Linked DNA regions of Homo sapiens: region 1 is linked to region 2. The links are contacts of gene promoters, found by promoter capture Hi-C in blood cells and fetal thymus (Javierre and others, 2016). All regions are on one chromosome and are shown on one strand. Each heading gives the region's core, a stretch centred on a gene start or on the middle of the fragment in contact. The rest is flanking DNA. Distances are from core to core; before and after follow the strand shown. Region 1 overlaps HIF1AN (hypoxia inducible factor 1 subunit alpha inhibitor). Region 2 holds the start of PKD2L1 (polycystin 2 like 1, transient receptor potential cation channel).

Region 1 (5,041 bases), core at 166-2,665, 210 kb after region 2:
ATTAAATGTCTCTTGTGGGCTTGTTCAAGTGTGTCTGGGTTTTCATATCTCTTAAGTAACTTATGACCTTCCTCAGGTATGTTAGGAGCCTGAGGCCTTTACCTAATAAGCTATCTTCCTTACTTTAGCTGTAGAAGGCTGCAACAGGATAGGTGGCTGAATCAGTTAAGATAAACTAGGCTTCAAGCCAGAGCTCGGGCTAGAAACAACAGAGGCTTATTTCTCACTTACTACATGTTGATCATGGGTAATGTCATATTGTTCTTTACATCATCTTACTTGCTCTGGCACCCAGATTGCCCCAGCAGCTACTATCTAGAACTTTGGAGTTGCTGTGGCAGAAGGAAAGAGATGTGGTAGTGGTAACTTGTTCTTAAATTACAGTTGGAAACAACACAAGTCGCTTCTGTGGACATTTCCTTGGCCAGAGCAGCGTAAATAAGCAAGCCTGGCTTCAAGGGGATGTGAAAGAAAACTCGCACACTGAGGGAACCAGCTCTTGGTGAACAGTAATACAATTTACCACAGTGGTCATCAAGGGCCAACGGAGATGTCTCAGGCTCTGCGAGTCTCTGGAGTGAGACTGATTCATCATTCTAGGGTCTGTGGATAGGCTTCTAGGAGTCTGAAATTGTGTGAAAGTTCTGGGTGTATGTGCATTTTTATGGGGAACCTCCGTGGATTCTTTTATTTATTTATTTATGTATTTATATTTTTTGAGATGGTGTCTTGCTCTTGTCACCCAGGCTGGAGTGCAATGGCACGATCTCAGCTCACTGCAACCTCTGCCTCCCAGGTTCAAGTGATTCTCCTGCCTCAGCCTCCTGAGTAGCTGGGACTTCTTCTCCAGGTTCTTTTTTTTTTTTTTAATTTTATTTTTCATCTCACCCTCCTACTCTTTGGATTCTTAAAGGAGTCATTCTGTGACCCAAAAAAGGTTAAGCATCACTTCTTTAAAGAAAAAGTTTGGGGGCCAGATGCAGTGTCTCACACCTGTAATCCCAGCACTTTGGGAGGCAGAAGCAGGAGGATTGCTTGAGCCCAAGAGTTTAAGACCAACCTGGACAACATATTGAGACCTTGTTTCTTTAAACAAAACAAAGAAAAACCAGTAAATTAAAAAATTTGGTGTTGAACATAACTCAATGAAGGATAAGTAAGAATTCAGTTGTATGAGAATCCATGTTGGCTAAAATTTGCCTGACTACATCTGTTCTCTGTGGGAGATGCTGGTATGGATTTGGGCTTGGATTTTCAGATGTGGAGAGGCCATGCCAGGGGCTGTGTGTGCATGCACTAATAGGATTTTCTTCTTGGGGAACATAGGTTGTATCTGCAGCAAACGCTCAATGACACTGTGGGCAGGAAGATTGTCATGGACTTCTTAGGTTTTAACTGGAACTGGATTAATAAGCAACAGGGAAAGCGTGGCTGGGGGCAGCTTACCTCTAACCTGCTGCTCATTGGCATGGAAGGTAAGAAATCTTTCAAAAGCAGCATGGCTTGGAGTCATATGAACCTGATTTCTAATCCTGTCTTCACCGCTTATTAGCTCCATGACTTTGAACAAGCCACTTCACTTTCTTAAGCCTCAGCCTACTCAGCTCTAAAAGAAACATAATAGGGGCTGGATGCCGTGGCTCACGCCTGTAATCCCAGCAGTTTGGGAGGCCAAGGTGGGTGGATGATGAGGTCAGGAGATGGAGACCATCCCGGCCAACATCATGAAACCCCGTCTCTACTAAAATACAAAGAAAACAAATCAGCTGGGCATGGTGGTGCGTGCCTGTAGTCCCAGCTACTCGGGAGGCTGAGAGAGGGGAATTGCTTGAACCCAGGCGGTGGAGGTTGCAGTGAGCCAAGATCACGCCACTGCACTCCAGCCTGGCGACAGAGCAAGACTCTGTCTCAAAAGAAAGAAAAAGAAACATAATAGGGCCAGGCATGGTAGCTCATATTTGTAATCCCAGCACTTTGGGAGGCCAAGGCAGGAGGATTGCTTGAAGCCAGAAGTTTGAGGCTACAGTGAACTATGATTGCACCACTGCACTGCAGCCTGGGCAACAGAGTGAGATCCTATTGCTTAAAAAAGGAAAAATGAAAAGAAATGAAACATGATAATGTCTTGTAAATAGTTGTGAAGTTGTGAAGATTAAATGAAATAATGTATGTCGAGTCTGTTTTTTTTTGTTGTTGTTGTTTTGTTTTTTTGAGACAGAGTCTCACTCTGTTGCCTAGGCTGGAGTGCAGTTGTGTGGTCTCGGCTCACTGCAACCTCCGCCTCCCGTGTTCAAGTGATTCTCCTGCTTTAGCTCCCAAGTAGCTGACACTACAGGCGTGTGCCACCATACCCGGCTTATGTCGAGTCTTTAAGCTAGTTTCGTGTATTCTAAAAAGTTCCCTTTTCCCTTCCTCAGCTGTTATGTGAGTGTGTATACTGAGATATTAGGGACCTCTCTGAAATACAGACATGTGATGCTTAATGTCAGGGATACGTTCTGAGAAATGTGTTGTTAGGTGACTTCATCATTGTGCAAACACCATAGAGTATAGTTACACAAACCTAGATTGTGTAGCCTTCTATATGCCTAGGCTATATGGTGTAGCCTCTGACTAAACCATGTACTACATGGTGTTAGCATATTACTGTGCTGAATATTATAGTCAATTCTAACACAATGGTAAGTATTTGTGTATCTAAACATACCTAAATATAGAAAAGGTATAGTAAAAGTACGGTATCAGATACTGCAGGAAAAAGGTGACAAAAGAAAAAAGTATATAAAGGTTAAAAAATGGTAGTTTGGGAATTTTTTTATTGCCAAAAAAAAAAAAGATAAAAAACGGTATACCTGTATAGGGCTGCTCCATCATAATCTTATGGGAGCACTATCGTAGATGCAATCTGTTGTCGACTAAAATGTCATCATGTGGCACATGACTGTACCACTTTTCTCTACTAGATCTGTCTATATTCAGACAATTTTTGTCCCTGTGAAAGAGGAGAAACTTATTTTTTTAGTGTAAATTCAACTTTATTGTTTTTATTTATTTATTTATTTTTGAGACAGAGTCTCGCTCTGTCGCCCAGGCTGGAGTGCAGTGGCGCGATCTCGGCTCACTACAAGCTCCGCCTCCCAGGTTCACGCCATTCTCCCACCTCAGCCTCCCAAGTAGCTGGGACTACGGGCGCCCGCCACCACACCTGGCTAATTTTTTTTGTACTTTTAGTAGAGATGGGGTTTCACCGTGTTAGCCAGGATGGTCTCGATATCCTGACCTCATGATCCACCTGCCCCGGCCTCCCAAAGTGCTGGGATTACAGGCGTGAGCCACCGCGCCTGGCAAATTCAACTTTATCTTTTAAATAGATAATACATTCATGGAGTTCGAATTCAAAAGGTGTAAATAGGTACATAGTGATAACTACCCCTGTCTCTTAGCCTCCCAATTTCCTCCCTGGAGGTACTGCATATTATTAGTTGCTTGTGTTTTCTGCTAGAGAAATTTATGCATACACTAATAAATATGTGAATGTGTTTTTTTTTTTTTTTTTTTTTTTCTTTTGAATGAAAGGAGAGGCCCTTAAACTCCACTCAGGAGAATGAGAGCTTTTTATGAGGCAGGGTCATTGTCTCATTCTTATTTTTATTTCTCGCAGTAGCTCAATGCCAGGCCCATGGTAGGTACTTAGTAAATGGTGAATAACCTGGGTTGAACAAGGAAACAGAGAAGTTATTTATTGTCATTCACCACTTAGCTCCTTGGTTTCTTCTTGTTTGATTGTCTGTTCTTCAGATTTGGATCCTTTGCTGCTGGTACTAATAAAGATTTCCGGCCATGTGGCTTGTGAATTGATACCACCTGCCTCTTTTTTTGTTTTTGTTTTTGTTTTTTATTGAGACAGTGTCTCACTCTGTCACCCATGCTGGTGTGCAGTGGCATGATCAGGGCTCACTGCAGCCTTGACCTCCCAGTCTCAAACGATCCTCCCACCTCACCCTTCCAAGTAGCTAGGACTACAGGCGTAAGCCACCATGCTTGGCTAATTTTTAAAGTATTTTTCTGTAGAGATGGGGGTCTCCCTATGTTGCCCGGACTGGTCTCGAACTCCTGGCCCCCTCTCACCTTGGCCCCCTAAGTGATCCTCTCACCTTGGCCCCCTAAAGTGTTGGGATTACAGACGTGAGCCACTGTGGCTAGTCTTACCTGCCCCTTTGAAACCAACTCTTGGTTGACCTGCCAAGAAAGAGCCAGTTCTGGTTTACTTGACTCTTTTTTTTGAGACAGAGTCTCGCTCTGTCGCCCAGACTGGAGTGCAATGGCGTGATCTCAGCTCACTGCAAGCTCTGCCTTCCGGTTCACACCATTCTTCTGCCTCAGCCTCCCAAGTAGCTGGGACTGTAGGCGCCCGCCACCACGCCCGGCTAATTGTTTTATAGTTATAATAGAGACGGAGTTTCACCGTGTTAGCCAGGATGGTCTCAATCTCCTGACCTCATGATCCCCCGCCTTGGCCTCCCAAAGTGCTGGCATTACAGGCGTGAGCCGCTGCGCCCGGCAGTTTACTTGACTCTTATGTCTTTCTGTTGCCTGCGTTTCCTGTGGTAGGGTGCATGGAAGTGGATCCCTCAGGTAGAGATGAGAGAGCAAGTCTGCTTTGAGGATGCATGTGGACTCTCATCACTTAAGAAAGCATCTGTCTTGGCATACCCAGACAGAGCTGGGGAAGATTGTCTAAATTCCATGCCCTGCAAAAGTGTGTGTTCAACTCATGGACTGTGCAAAGGCCAAACAACACACGTGGTCCTAGTTAGAAAGGAGTAGATGGAACATACACTAGGGCACAACTAATTCAAGGTGGCATTTAAAATAATGTGCCATATTTAAATTACACAGCACTCTCTTCAGTCATCTGATATTCTTTCCTCCAATGAAAATCACTTGCACCAGTGAGCCCCAATGTTGCTTTAAGAAGTGTTGTCTTGGCTAGATGTGGTGGCTCACGCCTGTAATGCTAACACTTTGGGAGGCTGAGGTG
Region 2 (5,557 bases), core at 1,990-4,489:
GAAAGGTTGTCACTTCAGAGAGTAACAGGAACACCTCAGTAGTTGGCTTAATAGAAGAAAGTTCTGAAAAGGAAGTGAGCCTCTGAGGGGAAAGGCCCAAGTGTCTGTTATCTATGTGTTTCTCAGTCCAACGTCTGGCTCAGAGGAGGTGGCTCCATAAGAGGAAGGAAACAGAGCTGCCCAATAGTAGAATGGGTTGCCTCATGAAACAGTGACAGCCCCGCTGACACTCCCCAGGTTGGGCTGGTTGGCCACCTGACAGAGCACCATGGGAAGGATCACAGAGAAAGGATTCCACGTATTCTGCATCCTAAAATTAGATGAGCTCTAAACCCCTGTCTGCTCAAGGACTCTGTAATTACTGAACGAAGCCTGTGACTCAGATTTTGGCAAGTCACAGACCATCTGGCAATGCATCAGTGCACTGAGATCTTAGAAAGCAGAGAACATGAGTGGATTGGACTCCTGGACTTCCAGAACCCAAGCTTCCACCCTTTCCAGCTCCATACAATGGAGTTAGAAATGGTTCACTGTAACTCTGGGGAGCTAGAAACAGTCCTGTTCCAGAGGCTAATCTGGAAAGAGAGACGTTTAAGTCATTTATAGAGAAAGGCTCTGCCTGTGGGTTTCAGCTGCTGTCACGGGATCTGAAAAAGGAGATGACTTCTCCTTGCTAGCAGATGGTTAGGACAAAAATAATCGATACGTCAACAAATGAATTTCTGACAGCCATTTGCTGAAAGGAATTGAAAGGGCCCCACAATATGTACATTGGGCCGGCCGTTGTTCCTCACATGCACTGTGTCCTTTCACTCCCTGCAGAGTGGCCAGTGACAAACACAGAGGACTGTCCCCTCTGTCCAGCATGGAATGAGTTCCGATAGAGCACAGCCAGAACAAAGTGCTTTCTGCCAGCTTTCCTAGAGGGCTTGCACAAATGTGGGTGGCTCAAAAAATAAGACAACATTTCATCAACATTAATGTTATGAGACTCTTTGACTCCACTTTCAAAAGATTTATGCACCCTGACAAGAACAGAGTATTGCGGAGCCTAGAACACCTACTAATGAGGGCATCTTAGTTGTACGATTCAACCTACAGCTTTAATCAAAACACAACCCCACACACAACTATATTAAACTAGGCAAACATCACTTGTGCAACTTTTGAAAGAAGTAATAAACCAAATACAAAGTTGCTGTCATTACCTACAAGTCTAATAGCATCTGTTTGGTCCAATTTTATTATTATTTACGGTTCTTTGACTCTATCTTCCCACAGTCGCCCTCCTATCTTTTCACTTGCTTCTCTCAACTTAGAGATCAAAATTTCTCAGTTTGTGTCTATAGCTAGAGCCTCAATAAGCTTCCTCCAATGGCATGTGACATGGTGGTCTCTCACATGGGACCATCACCATACCATGTGTTTCCCTCCCTCTCTTAACAGGGATCTGAGATCTAAGGTCGCCTGGATCTTTTACTTCCTCTCTTTTTTCTTCCATCTTTTTCTCTGCCTCTAAAGAAACATGCATCGGATATAGTATAATAACTACGTGAAGCCCACCAAACTATCTTTCCAAACAGAAGGGAGTGGTTTTCCACTCTTTTTTTTTTTTGGAGACAGAGAGACAGAGTCTTGCTCTGTCCCCCAGGCTGGAGTGTAGTGGCACGATCTTGGCTCACTGCAACCTCTGCTCCTGGGTTTAAGCGATTCTCCTGCCTCAGCCTCCTGAGTAGCTGGGATTACAGGCACCTGCCACCCAGCTAATTTTTGTATTTTTAGTAGAGACAGGGTTTCGCCATGTTGGCCAAGCTGGTCTCAAAACTCCTGACCTCAGGTGATGTGCCCACTTCGGCCTCCCAAAGTGCTGGGATTACAGGCGTGAGCCACCGTGCCAGCCCACTCTCTACAGAAGGGTAAAATATTTTCACCTTTCACCTTTTCAGCCAATAGAAAACAATGGCTGCCAAAAACTGGTTTCCCCTTGTAATTCTTGACCAAACTGCCTTCCTCTACTGACAAATTCCTTTTAAACAAAATATCTTAAGCTGCAAAGGTAAATAGATGGGATTGGAATATTGTTATCTAAAGTTCCCGGATATAGCCTGCTTACACAGATAGATGCTCGCTCCACAGATGTTGCCCACAGGAATGTTTATACATATAGTGCACACATAGATGTTTCTCACAGACAGATGTACACAAACACAGATGCTACTCACGTAGACAGATGTCCACCAGGAACACAATATATACCAACAGCTCCCTCAGGGTGGTCTTGATATAAAGTTCCCGGTTCTCAGCTGTGTTCTCAGTCAGGGTTGTTCCCCAAAGTCCTAAGGGGCATGGGAGAGATGCCTGGGATGCTCAGTGGCAGTGTTCCTCCCAGTCATCCCCACCCATCTGTCTCTGGACTTTAGCCCCTTTCCACCCCTGCCCTTCCTTGCCCATCACCTTCATCCTTGGCTGAATCTGGCTACTGTACCCACACCCATGCTTGCTCTTCCCATCAGCTCCCTGAGGTCGACAGGGGTGAAGGCCCTGGCTTGTAGAGAATGAAGGCATGGAAAGGAGGCACCTGTTCCAGGTGGGGTAGTCTAGGGCATCATCACATCCATGTCCTCCCTCAAACCAGCTCCCACATACCTCTCTGGATCCCCAGGTGATGACCATGCCAGGCTCCCACAACCGGTAGACCGCTCAGCTGGCCTCTGTGTTCTGGGTCATGCAGCACTACCATGGGCAATTCATACACCCCAAAGTGACACCGAAAGGTCACCTCTTCTTCAGATCACATTCCACCCCCACCCCCTGCCCAAAAGCTTTTGGTGACTCCTCCTGATTCTAATATCCCAGGAGAACTGTCCCCCTATCTGGTACCTCTGATGCCTTGACAGATATGGAGGCAGCAGCTGGACACCTGGGTCCTGTATGCCGTCTCCTGGGGTTCATCTTCAGGCTTCTTGGGTTGGGGCTGGAGAGGCCCCGTGCTGGAGATGGTGCAGACTCTCAGCGTCCCGTGTGGGGAAGGGGGACCACTGTAGGCGGGGTTGTCCCAGGCTCCACTCCCCAGCTTTTGCAGCTCCTGCCCCTCAGGACTTCCCACAGCATTCATGGGGAATGAGGTGGGGGGGCCCGGTACCCCAGGTGCCCACTCTCAGCTAGAGGAAGAGGGAGCAGAGGCACAGCCCAGCCTAGCCAGCAGAGAGCAAATGGAAAGGCGTCTGAGAGCAGCTGTTTCCACACAGCCTGGGCTCCTGCCTTTTGTAGGGGGATGTCTGTGCCTGCTGGGGAGGGAGCGGATGAGAGGACAGGGTGGGGAAGGACCATCAATCCTGTCAGGAGCTCTCTCTCCCTCTTGCTGCAAGCCCCAGGGGACCAGCCGAAAGGGGAGGTGAGGGAACTGGAAGGTGGGGGTTTGAAGAGGGGAGAGGGGAGAATAGGAGGAGGATGTGGAGCTGGGAGTGGAAGGAGAAACGGGAGGAAAAGGCGATGCTGGGGATGAAGGGGGCTGCTCGCAGATGTGCCTGGTGGAGAGATGGCCCAGAGGTCGGACAGAAGAGACGATCAAAGAGCAATGGGAGGAGCTGAGACAGGAGGGGAGCCGGGGGCCTGTGCTGCGGGTCTGAGCTCATTTCCACTAAAAGCTCCTAAAAGGGCCGACATGGATTGGGGTGGGGACCAAGGCTGGGAGGAAAGCTGAAGAGCGCTGTCCCCCTCCCAGGCTCTGCCCACCTCCCAGGTTCAGTCAATGGGTCTGAGGCTCCTGTCCTGTCTCACCTTCAGCTGTCCCCTGGTGGAGCAGAGATGGGCAGCTCCCTTCCCTCACTTCACCCTCTCAGCCGTGGGGAAAGGACAGTGGCAGGAGGAACCCCAGTCTCACATACTTCAGGGCACTGAGGGGGCAGGGGAGAGGACCACAGAGTCCTAGGTTGTCTATATTCCTTGTTCTGAAGCTTGCCTTTCCATGGCTTACAGGTGAGATACACCAAGAGAGGGGGTTCCTTAAGGGTGTGGGGCTCAGTATGGGAAAAAGGCTAAGACCTGGTTGGGAGGCTGGATCGGAGAACAAAGGACAAGGACAGTATGATGTGGGACTAAAGGGGAGTGGATATCTGGACCCAGCTGAGCTGGGAACCTTTTCCCATGGCTCTGCTTAGTCCTGGGCCTAGAATCGTAAACTTGAGCACAAAGTGGAACTATCCATGATATCAGGATTAATCTGCTTTCTTTATAACTGCAGGTCTCTGAATTAAAACTGTGTCATGGGCCCCCAAGCACATCCCTGCCTATGCCCTGCTCCAGCTTCTGATCACCTGCTCCAGCTCCCCTATAGGCATGCATGATGCCCCAGAATGGGGCTGATCCCACAGGTTGTGGTGGTCACCCTGCAGTTTCTCCTCCTTGAGGCTAGAGCAGAGACTTTCCTCTCCTAACTCCTGGCTCCCCACCCAGGGCTACTCACTGGCCTGAAGCCCACCTTCACATTCAGCAAAACATCAGCCTTGTCAAAATAATCAGTCTTGAGTGTCCCTATAAAGAGATCTTGGCTGGGTGTGGTTGCCCACACCTGTAATTCCAGCACTTTGGGAGGCCAGGGCAGGAGGATCACTTGAGCTCAGGAGTTCAAGACCAGCCCGGGCAACATGGTGAAACACCGCCTCTACAAAACAACAACAAAACAACAAAAATTAGCCAGGCATGGGGTGCGTGCATGTAGTCCCAGCTGCTACTCAGGTGGCTGGGGTGGGAGAACCACTTGAGCTGGGGAGGCTGAGGCGTTGAGGCTGCAGTCAGCTGAAATCACACCACTGCACTCCAGCCTGAGCAACAGAGCAAGACCCTGTCTCAAGAAAAAAGAAAGAAAGAAAGATAACAAGTGTTGGCAAGGCTGTGGAGAAAAGGGGCCCCTTGTATGCTTGGCTGTATTGTAAATTAGTACGGACATCTTGGAAAACAGTATGGAGGTTCCTCAAAAAACTAAAAATAGAATTACCATATGTTCCAAGAATCTCAAAGGAATTGAAATCAGTGTGTTGAATAGATGTCTCCTCTCCCATGTTCATTGCAGGATTATTAATAATAGCCAAGATATGGAAACAATCTAAGTATCCATCAACTGACGAAAGGATTTAAAAGATGTGGTATATATGCACAATATAATATATTCAGCCTTGAAAAAAAAAACACAGAAAATTCTGTCATTTACGACAACATAGATAAACCTAGAGAACATTATGTTAAGTGAAATAAGCCAGGCATAATGAGACAGATGCCCTATGCTCTCACTTATATGTGGAAACTAAAAAAATTGAACTCGTAGAAGTAGAGAGTAGAATGGTGGTTACCAGAGGCTGGGGGTGAGGGGTGTGTGAGAGGGGAAGAGAGTGGTCGATGGATAAAAGCTTTCAATCAGGCAAGAGAAATATGTTCTGTTGTTCTGTTGCACAGTGTGGTGACTACAGTTGATAATGAGGTACTGTGTACTTCAAAATAGCTAACAGAGAGGATTTAAAAAGTTCTTACTACAAAGAAATGATAAATATTTGAAGTAATG

What was found. Contacts are between HindIII fragments. The CHiCAGO score rates a contact against its expected background, and 5 or more counts as called.
Region 1: a fragment that was not itself captured here is called in contact with the fragment with the promoter of PKD2L1 in region 2 in 1 of 17 cell types (naive CD8 T cells); the score reaches 5.2 in naive CD8 T cells.

Annotation. Positions count from the first base shown.
Region 1 is chr10:100,539,308-100,544,348 of GRCh38, forward strand. It overlaps HIF1AN (hypoxia inducible factor 1 subunit alpha inhibitor), which reads left to right. Exons shown (of 8, transcript NM_017902.3): 3 at 1,327-1,475. Among named protein-coding and RNA genes, the nearest start is that of HIF1AN, 5.9 kb to the left of the region's middle. The HindIII fragment of the contact is 8,099 bases long and covers 1-5,041 here.
Region 2 is chr10:100,326,989-100,332,545 of GRCh38, forward strand. It overlaps PKD2L1 (polycystin 2 like 1, transient receptor potential cation channel), which reads right to left and starts at 3,240. Exons shown (of 16, transcript NM_016112.3): 1 at 2,881-3,240; 2 at 2,223-2,336. The coding sequence starts at 3,115. RefSeq lists an enhancer at 259-378. The HindIII fragment of the contact is 1,134 bases long and covers 2,821-3,954 here.